Regions from separate parts of the Homo sapiens genome. Here regions 1 and 3 are each linked to region 2. The links are contacts of gene promoters, found by promoter capture Hi-C in blood cells and fetal thymus (Javierre and others, 2016). All regions are on one chromosome and are shown on one strand. The core of a region is centred on a gene start or on the middle of the fragment in contact, and the rest is flanking DNA. Distances in the headings are between cores, read along the strand shown. Region 1 overlaps POLB (DNA polymerase beta). Region 2 holds the start of GOLGA7 (golgin A7). Region 3 holds the start of VDAC3 (voltage dependent anion channel 3).

Region 1 (3,040 bases), core at 147-2,646, 860 kb after region 2:
TTATTATCTTAAAATTTGAGCTGGTACCAAGGTGGGCTTTTTTGACACTGGCTGAAGTAAAGATTAACATTGAAATATTAAGGCTTTAGTGCTCTCATCTTTATGGCATGGGGCATTCCTTTAAATATAATGATTTGTTCTTTAAATGGCAGCATTTTCGGTGAAAGTTATTCTAAAACATATTAAATTCTTAAACCTAGTATGTTGAAAATGAAAATGACTGCTTGGGGACTCAAGGCCATTATAAAATTTTCATTGGAAGAATTACAAAAATTTTTTTTTTTTTTTAGAGATAGTGTCTTATTCTGCTATCTAGGCTAGAGTGCAGTGGTGCTATTATAGCTCACTGTAACCTTGAACTCTTGGGGTAAAGTGACTCTCCTGCCTTAGTACTCCTTTTGAGTAGCTGAGACTACAGGCTTGCGCAACCATGTGTGGCCAATTTTTGTATCTTTTGTAGAGAAGAGGTCTCCCTATGTTGCCTAGGCTGGTCTTGAACTCCTGGCCTCAAGCCTTCCTCCCACTTAAGCCTCCCAGAGTGCTAGGATTATAGGTGTGAACCACAAGGTGTTTTAGAGAGCATCTATTATCCTTTTTTTCTAGGCAAGAGAACTGAAAGTTGAATATAGAACATGAGTAACCATGGCAGAGCCAGATTTGAACCCATATCTTCTGACTCCGAGTTCAGTTCTGTTTCTTCTATGCTGCATTGCCTTCCTAACATCAGTATCAGTTTCTATATCACAATATAATGTGATGATATTTGCATAGCTTACTGAATGATACAGGTTTATTTGTCCCGAAACACTGTGGCCCCAGACTATTGTGCTTGTATGTTTATATGTGTGTGTATGCATTTCTTTCTGTTCACCGCTCCTGCTTTATTATGCTGTAAACTGGTATGGTGAGAAGAGAGTCAGGAAATCTGGATAATGGTCTAGAGCTAGCACCAGCTAGATTTGTGACCTTAGCAAATCGCTTCATCTTTCTAGGTTTCAGTGTCCTTCCTTATGAAATAAGAGAGAAATTTGGTTAATCAGTAAGCTTCCTTCTGTCCCCATCCTATAAGAGCATCTTCAGTCATTTCTGACATTCTGATTTATTTATATGAATAAAGTGATATTTTAGAAACCTAAATCAGATTTTATCATTGCTTTGTGCAGTGTCCTCTAATAGCTTTCCATTGCACTCAGAATAAAATCCAAACCTATCACCATGGCTCTAAAAGCACAGTAGAGTGTAACACCTGCGTACTGTTCCATAGCACCTCATACCGTCACTTACATCACTCTATGCATCCTAGTTTTTCTCTTCTCTTGAACAGGCCAAGCTCATGCCAGCCTTAGGGCCCTTGCACTAATTGTTTCCTTTTCCCGAAACGTTTTTCTCTTTGATCCCCTAGATAGCTGGTTCTTTAGTCATTCAAACCTCAGCTTAGATACCATCTCAGAGACCTTCTACCACTCAGTCTAAAGTAGGACCCAGCCATTCTGTCATATTCTATTTTAATTTATCCATCTGATTTTTTCTTGTTTATGTAACTAACTATTGTCTCTATCTACCCACTTACATTCTTATTCCTGCTACATTTTCAGCACCCAGGAAAGTATCTGACACATAATGGCCCTCAGTAAATCTTAGTTCAATGAATGAACAGTTTTCAAGTGCCATCTGTACATGGGCACTATGACAGCAGCTGCTTAGACATCCTTTTTATGTCTGAATTCATAGTTGTCTTCCTAATGATTGAAGCTTCAATAATTCGTACTTCGGATACAGTTGAACATTACCAAAGTAGCCATGCAACATTTTAGCAGGTCTTGTTTAGCTTAATAGCAGCTCTTCTTACTATTAAGACATGGTTGTTACAAGGATCCCAAGTTTCACCCAATGTTGAGATAATGCTTTTGTTTTTGTAGTCCATCTGCTGCAAGGAAGTTTGTAGATGAAGGAATTAAAACACTAGAAGGTGAGTATGACTGTAGGTCACTAATTCCAGATTAAATATGGTCCTGAAGGACCATTAGTGCTCTAACAAACTTCAACTTGAAAAACCCATTCTCAATCAGTAGATACAAAAGATAAGATTTTCTTTTTAACTCTGTAGTACAGTAGATATAGGGTATAGTTTATATTACCATCATAAACATTTTTAGGTTTGTAACTAACTCAGAGAAAACTAAGAAGACCAAGAACCAGGGCCAGGCGCGGTGCCTCATGCCTGTAGTCCCAGCACTTTGGGAGGCGGGTGGATCACTTGAGGTCAGGGGTTCGAGACCAGTCTGGCCAACATGGTGAAACCCCATCTCTACTAAAAATACAAAATTAGCCGGGTGTGGTGGCAGGCACCTGTAATCCCAGCTACTCAGGAGGCTGAGGCAGGAGAATTGCTTGAACCCGGGAGGCAGAGGTTGCATTGAGCCGAGGTGGTGCCACTGCACTCCAGCCTGGGTGACAGAGTAAGACTCTGTCTCAAAAAAAAAAAGAAGAAGACCAAGAACCAACCTCTTGACTTAAAAGCAATGAAATAGTTATCGTTTGCAAATTTTTCAAATATCTAAATTGCCTTTATTTCTTTTTTTTTTTTTTTGCTCTGCCTCCCAGGTTCATGCCATTCTCCTGCCTCAGCCTCCCAAGTATCTGGGACTACAGGCTCCCACCACCACACCCGGCTAATTTTTTTTTGTATTTTTAATAGAGACGGGGTTTCACTGTGTTAGCCAGGATGGTCTCGGTCTGACCTTGTGATCTGCCCACCTCGGCCTCCCAAAGTGCTGGGATTACAGGCGTGAGCCACCGCGCCTGGCCCCCTTTATTTCTTTAATAAAATTTTAGGCAATAAAATCTTAGATTAAAAGCTAAGTTATATATTACTGAAAAAGATTCTGTAAGAGATTTGTAATGGTTATTAAAGGAATTTTTGCTTTCAAAGAAAAGATAAAAATAGAACCTAACAAGTAATTATAAAACGTTTTCCTTAAATATAGTAATCCTTTACATGTAATTTATCTCTTTATACTTTTCATGGGTGTATGTATAC
Region 2 (2,704 bases), core at 8-2,507:
TATCCAGCATCAAAAATAAATGAATTATTGATAACACAACAACAGATGGACTTCAAAATAGTCTATGTGAAAGAAGCCAGGCAAAAAAAGGGGGTACACACTATATGATTCAATTTATATAAAATTCAAGGAAATGAAACTAATGTTGAGTGACAGAAGGTGGATCAGTGCCTGGGAAATGGGGTCTGGGAGAGGCAGGAGGGAGAGATTACACAGGAGCTGGAGGAACCTTTTCAGGGCAATGGAGCTTTACTATCTTGATTGTGACAGTGGTTTATGGGTGTATTCATATGTCCAAAGTTATCAAATCCACTGCTTTAAATGTGTGGTTTATTGTATGCCATTTATATCTCGAAAAAGCTGTTTTTAAAATACAGTAAGAGAATTTTTCATATTTAAAAGGCAGGATATTTAAACTATATTAAATATATAAAAGACAGTGGTACTAACAGGTTGTATTAGCAGGAGACAAGGGTAAGGTGGGGTTTCTTTGGCTGCCTTGCAAAGAAATGCTGAGTCAAGTAAGGGCCAGTGGGCAACGAGGGCGGAACCACTTGTCCCCTTGGTCACCTGAGGGATGTGGATGGGAGCTGGGTGGAAATGGGGGGTGAGAGGAACGCCGCCCCCAAAGAAGAGTCGGGGCAGGGGCGCCCAACGCTGGGGCCCAGGCAGGTTCTTCGTCCTCACTTCCTGACCCTTTCTCAAGAGTCTAGGGACCAAATGGATCCATCCTTGGAGCCTGCTTTCTACTTCTGAACACAATGAGCAGTTTGTGTTTGAGGGTTTGGGGAGGGGGTGTTGTTTTTTCTTTATGTTTTGTTTTTTGTTTTGTGTATGAGTTGGGTGGCATAACCCACACGTAAGCTGCGACGTCCAATCAAGAACGAAAATGACCCCTCACAATCAGTGATCGGGAACCACCTGCCACAATCACTAGGGAAGTGACACAGCCGGGAAACTCCGCCCCTCACACCCCCGCGCGCTCGCGCCGGCCGCAGCCCCACAGCTCGCCCCGGCCGCAGCCCCACAGCTCGCCCCGCCTCTCTCCTTCCGGAAACAATCCCCGCGCGGGCGGAAGGCGGGGTCGGCCCTGGCCCCGCCCACATCATTTCCCTTCCTCGGCCCAGCCCCACAGCGCGCAGCTTCGGCAGGGTGGCTTTACGGCCGGAGGAGAGGGTGGGTCCCAGACCTGAGGTAGGAGGCCGAGCTGAGGGGCGGGGAAGAGGCTTTTTGCGGCAGGACGTAAGTGACGGCGAAGGCGGTGCGACAGCAGCTGGAGGGCAGAGGAGGCGGGTTTGTGTTTCCCGGGCCGAACCGGGTTGTGGGGGGCGCGGGGCCTGGGCCAGGCGGCAGCTAAGGCCCGCGGTGACAGCATGGGTGAAGGGGAGCGGGGCAGAGGAGGCCTTGGGCTGTTTTCGGCGGCGGGTGGGGGCGAGGGGCTGGCGGGTCAGAGTCCCGGGTCCAGGCCGGGGCTCTGACTCGCGGTTGGTGTTCCCCCGACCCCGCAGCGCGGGGTGTCCTGTCCTCGCCATGAGGCCGCAGCAGGCGCCGGTGTCCGGAAAGGTGTTCATTCAGCGAGACTACAGCAGTGGCACACGCTGCCAGTTCCAGACCAAGTTCCCTGCGGAGCTGGAGAACCGGGTACGCAACCTGGCTCCCCACGCCTGCTCTGGCGAGGGAGAGAGACTCACCGGGGACGGGAAGGGTGTGGGCGACAACCGGGCCTTTGAGGGTCCCGCAGTTCTGGGGAGGTCCAGGCACAGAAGGGGCCTTGGCCAAACGTGTAAGAAGAGAGCCACTAAGCAAGACAGGTGTTTGGAGCAGGAAGAATAATATAGGCCGATCGCCGGGGTTGACGACCTTATGGAACTTTGTTGCCCGGTGCCGGGAATCTGGATCCAGCAGTGTTCCCCTGCTGCACTCCCCCAAATCCCCACCCCGGGTTATTGTCGGCAGCGATGAGGAGCCAATTCCTGAGGCTCCAGGTCGTCTCAGTCACCAGGTTGTAAACTATATCCTCCTACCTCTCCGCGCAAGATAAATCATCATCATTCTCGTGACTGGTGTTTGCTGCCTCTGTGCTGGCCGCACTGTTTGGCTGAAAGGGTTTATTAGGTGCATGGCCAGGCGGTGCGTTCAGGCTTTCTTGGAACCTTAAAGACGTCGGGCGTTAGATAGGCCTGGACAGGAAAATGTCTCAGAACAAGGCCTTAAACTTGTCACATTCACTGGGAGCCACCTGTTTTGTCTTGCATATCAAAATGGTCATCAGGATATAGGTCCTTTGGGCAACATTGCAGGCAAAAATGGAAGAATGGGATTTGCTTCCCCTTCAGACCTAGCAAAACTTTAAAAAAAAAAAAAAAATCATTGTATCTTGTTGTAGAGGTAATGGAGTGTGTGCGTGCCTGCCTGTGTTTTTGTGTGCCCACATATGTACATTCAACCAAAGATTCTTTTGGTCTTGACCCATGTTATGTAGATTGTGTTTCCCGTTCAGGGATCAATTTCTGGTTAGCTGGAAGCAGGTTTTGTGGCTCTCTCCTCTGTGACAGGGAGGACGAGGGCCTGAGAGGTGATTAGGCATTCCTTGGGTGTGGGACTGAGAGATGCTGGTCATGGGATAAGTGGGTGTGGATGAGTCTGTGTAGAGAAATGTGTAGCAGTTATTTACAGTCAGTTTGCAGTGAGGTGGGTTGCACTG
Region 3 (2,918 bases), core at 13-2,512, 900 kb after region 2:
CCCGGCTGTTCGTCTCCGCGCCTTGCTCCGAAGCGCGCGACCGTGGCGCGACACGCCGGCGCACAGGCGCTCTCGGGGAGGGGCGGCGCGCAGGCGCGGCTGGGGGTGCGAGGCTGCGCAGGCGCGGACGGCGTTGGTTTGAAGACCTTCAGCGTTGCCCTGGCGGAGCAGAGACAGGCCCTCGGGGTGGAGGTGAGGAGAGCTGAGGCCGCGCGGGCTCCAGTCCCGGAGAGCGGTGGGCCGCGGCCGAGCAGAGCGCCAGGCGGGAGGCGGGCCTAACGGAGGCTCTGTGGGCAGGGAGCAGGCTACCGGGGCGCGGGGGGCCGGGGCCGCTCGCTCCCGCCGGGACCCGCCCGGGCCACCTCAGGCGATGGAGCCGCAGCACGGCGGGGCAAGTGGCCTCCGGGCGCGGGCAGCGACCTATCCCGCCGGCGTGTGGACCGCACTTTCCTCCCAGGGGTCAGCTAGAAAGGAGATCGGTTCTAGGGAAGTTGGATCCTCGAACCCCACACCCATCTCCCGCCCGCCCCTGCCCCCTCCTTACGGCCGAGGGAGGGTGCCCTGCGTGCAATTCAAAACGGAGAAGCGAGGAACGAAAAGGGCTCTGTACTGGCTGTCAAGTTAGTGGCTTTGTAAAGCAGTAGCAACCGGCTTAACGCCTTTCCCCGTCTGCGTCTCCTGCAGCCTCTGTGCAGTGTGCACATCTATGGGCAGGTGCATTCTGTAGAGCTGGTGGAGACGTGTGGTTGTAGCTTTACTCTCGAGGAACATGAAGTTTCTGTTGTTCTCGATTTTTGCTTGATCATACTAGCAGTGCATTTCCCATCAGAGTCATAGGCCTGAAAAAGTCAGCTTGAACTAGGCAGAATTGAGGTCAGTTAGTATACTAAACCAGCTACGTGACTTTTGCATAGTATCTCGTACTGGTTTTGAAAAATAACAAAACAAAATGCTGAAATATTGTAAATAGTCCCTAGACGTATATATAGTGCTTCTAAACATTTAAGTGTATCTTTTCTCGGCAGTATGAAAAACCAGACTGTAAAGCTTTAACATTTCTATTTCAATATATACTGCCTGCATTTCTATACTTACTTCCCAAATTACAGACTTCTGGCAAAATTTCAACAAATATCAACATCAGTTGTAATCATAAAGAGTAATATCAAATTGCAATTGGGATAATATAAAAAGCCTAGAATTGATCACTTTAGTACAAGGGATTGAATTGTAAAATAATCGTTCTGTAAGTGAATTATGAAACCTGGTAGCTTAGAGCAAAGTTTTACTATGGAATGAGTCAGTACATTTATACTACCGTTTCCTCTTTAATTTTTTTTTCTTTTTAGTTTTTTATACTAGTCTCTTTATATCATAGTGTCTGTCATATTTGACAGGTTTATGTTAAGGAACAAAACTTAAATGCATTCCCATTTAAGTGCATCATATGTATATGTTTGGTATGATGGGGTAGGCAGAAGCTTAGCAGAAGTCTGGATTAAGAGCTGGGCTATATATAAATAAATATGAGCTTAAATGTGTAGATCATTCAGGCGTAGCAATTGCAAGGGCTAGCTGGTACTCTGGATTTTTCTGACATATGGGCTAATGGCACTGCTAGAGGTGGCTCTGTAATTGGTTAGACATAGCTTTTGAGTCTGCGAGAGGAATACAGAAGAACCTGCTGCAGAAAGATTTCCCATGATACAAAGAGGGCAAAGGAATGAGATAATCAGCAGTGTTGATAGCTCTGAGAATTTGATATGAGGGTCATATTACCAGTAGCAAAGCTGGGCAGATTTTTAGTAGGCAAGATGAAAAATCAAGGCACCTGAGGTTTTTGAAGGCTTTAACTTCAGAGTTTACACTAACTTTTGGTAAGCAGGTTGCTGCAGGTAGAATCTGTCATATTTCTGGTTAATGGGTAAAATTATAGCACTTTAAGAAGAGCTTTGAGAGAAGATATATTCTAGATGAATACACTTCAATTCGTATGGTAAATTCTTATTTTAAGAACTGAATTTCAGAGGAGAAAAATGTTAACCCTGAGGATTTTGATTGCATCTTTTAACAGTTTCTTTAAAAATTTCCATTGTTGTCTTATACAGGTCTTTGGTTTCATAAGAGCCTGAGAGAGATTTTTCTAAGGTAAATTTTGCATATATTTTTAAAAGAAGTCCAGTTTAACATAGCATCTTTTTCATCCTGTAAGAACTTACTTTTCTTTGAAATGCAATCAGAAAGATGACCTCTGAATCTCACGGGAAAACTGTTTTATTCTCAGTATTCTGGAAAGGTCTGTTTTTTAAGGAGCAGACTGCTGTCTCATACCTTTGATTGCATTAAAGCATTAATGATACACAGGAAGAGAAAACTGTATACCCCTTCTCACAGGATTAAACAGCAGAAGAACTGTGGGTGAATAAATACTAAATGGTTATTTTTATTCCTTTGCCCTGTTTTTCTTTATAAGATATGTGTAACACACCAACGTACTGTGACCTAGGAAAGGCTGCTAAGGATGTCTTCAACAAAGGATATGGTAAGTATGCTATTGTAACTTTCCAGTTTGGGGTAAAGGTTAGTGTTGAATGCCTACTGTGTGTAAATACTGTGTTAGTAAAATAAGGGTAAGTCAGCATTATTCCACTTCACAAGATTTAAGGGGATAACTATTAACAGGCTATTAGACCTCATTCTTTAGAGGCAGAACCCCTTACAAGCATTAAAAGCAATTATATACATATACAGATGCATATACATGTCCATATTTAATGTTATCTGGAATGTAGAATAATATATATAACATTTATGTCTCTTTGTCTGGCCCTGAGGACAATTAAATTAGGGGGTAGAACTTTTCCTCCCTCCAAACAGTGGCATTGTTTTTATGAAAGTGACAACATAACTTTTGACTT

What was found. The method cuts DNA at HindIII sites, captures the fragments that hold promoters and counts their contacts. A CHiCAGO score of 5 or more calls a contact.
Region 1: a fragment that was not itself captured here is called in contact with the fragment with the promoter of GOLGA7 in region 2 in 1 of 17 cell types (fetal thymus); the score reaches 5.7 in fetal thymus.
Region 3: a fragment that was not itself captured here is called in contact with the fragment with the promoter of GOLGA7 in region 2 in 2 of 17 cell types (total B cells and fetal thymus); the score reaches 6.9 in total B cells.

What each region holds. Positions count from the first base shown.
Region 1 is chr8:42,350,600-42,353,639 of GRCh38, forward strand. It overlaps POLB (DNA polymerase beta), which reads left to right. Exons shown (of 14, transcript NM_002690.3): 6 at 1,920-1,969. Among named protein-coding and RNA genes, the nearest start is that of POLB, 14 kb to the left of the region's middle. The HindIII fragment of the contact is 708 bases long and covers 1,043-1,750 here.
Region 2 is chr8:41,489,325-41,492,028 of GRCh38, forward strand. It overlaps GOLGA7 (golgin A7), which reads left to right and starts at 1,258. Exons shown (of 5, transcript NM_001002296.2): 1 at 1,258-1,641. The coding sequence starts at 1,531. RefSeq lists a silencer at 889-1,148 and enhancers at 1,199-1,328, 1,619-1,728, 1,779-1,888. The HindIII fragment of the contact is 7,658 bases long and covers 1-2,704 here.
Region 3 is chr8:42,391,737-42,394,654 of GRCh38, forward strand. VDAC3 (voltage dependent anion channel 3) reads left to right here and starts at 144. Exons shown (of 10, transcript NM_005662.7): 1 at 144-192; 2 at 2,109-2,148; 3 at 2,474-2,542. The coding sequence starts at 2,476. RefSeq lists enhancers at 1-148, 149-649 and a silencer at 1-420. The HindIII fragment of the contact is 434 bases long and covers 1,046-1,479 here.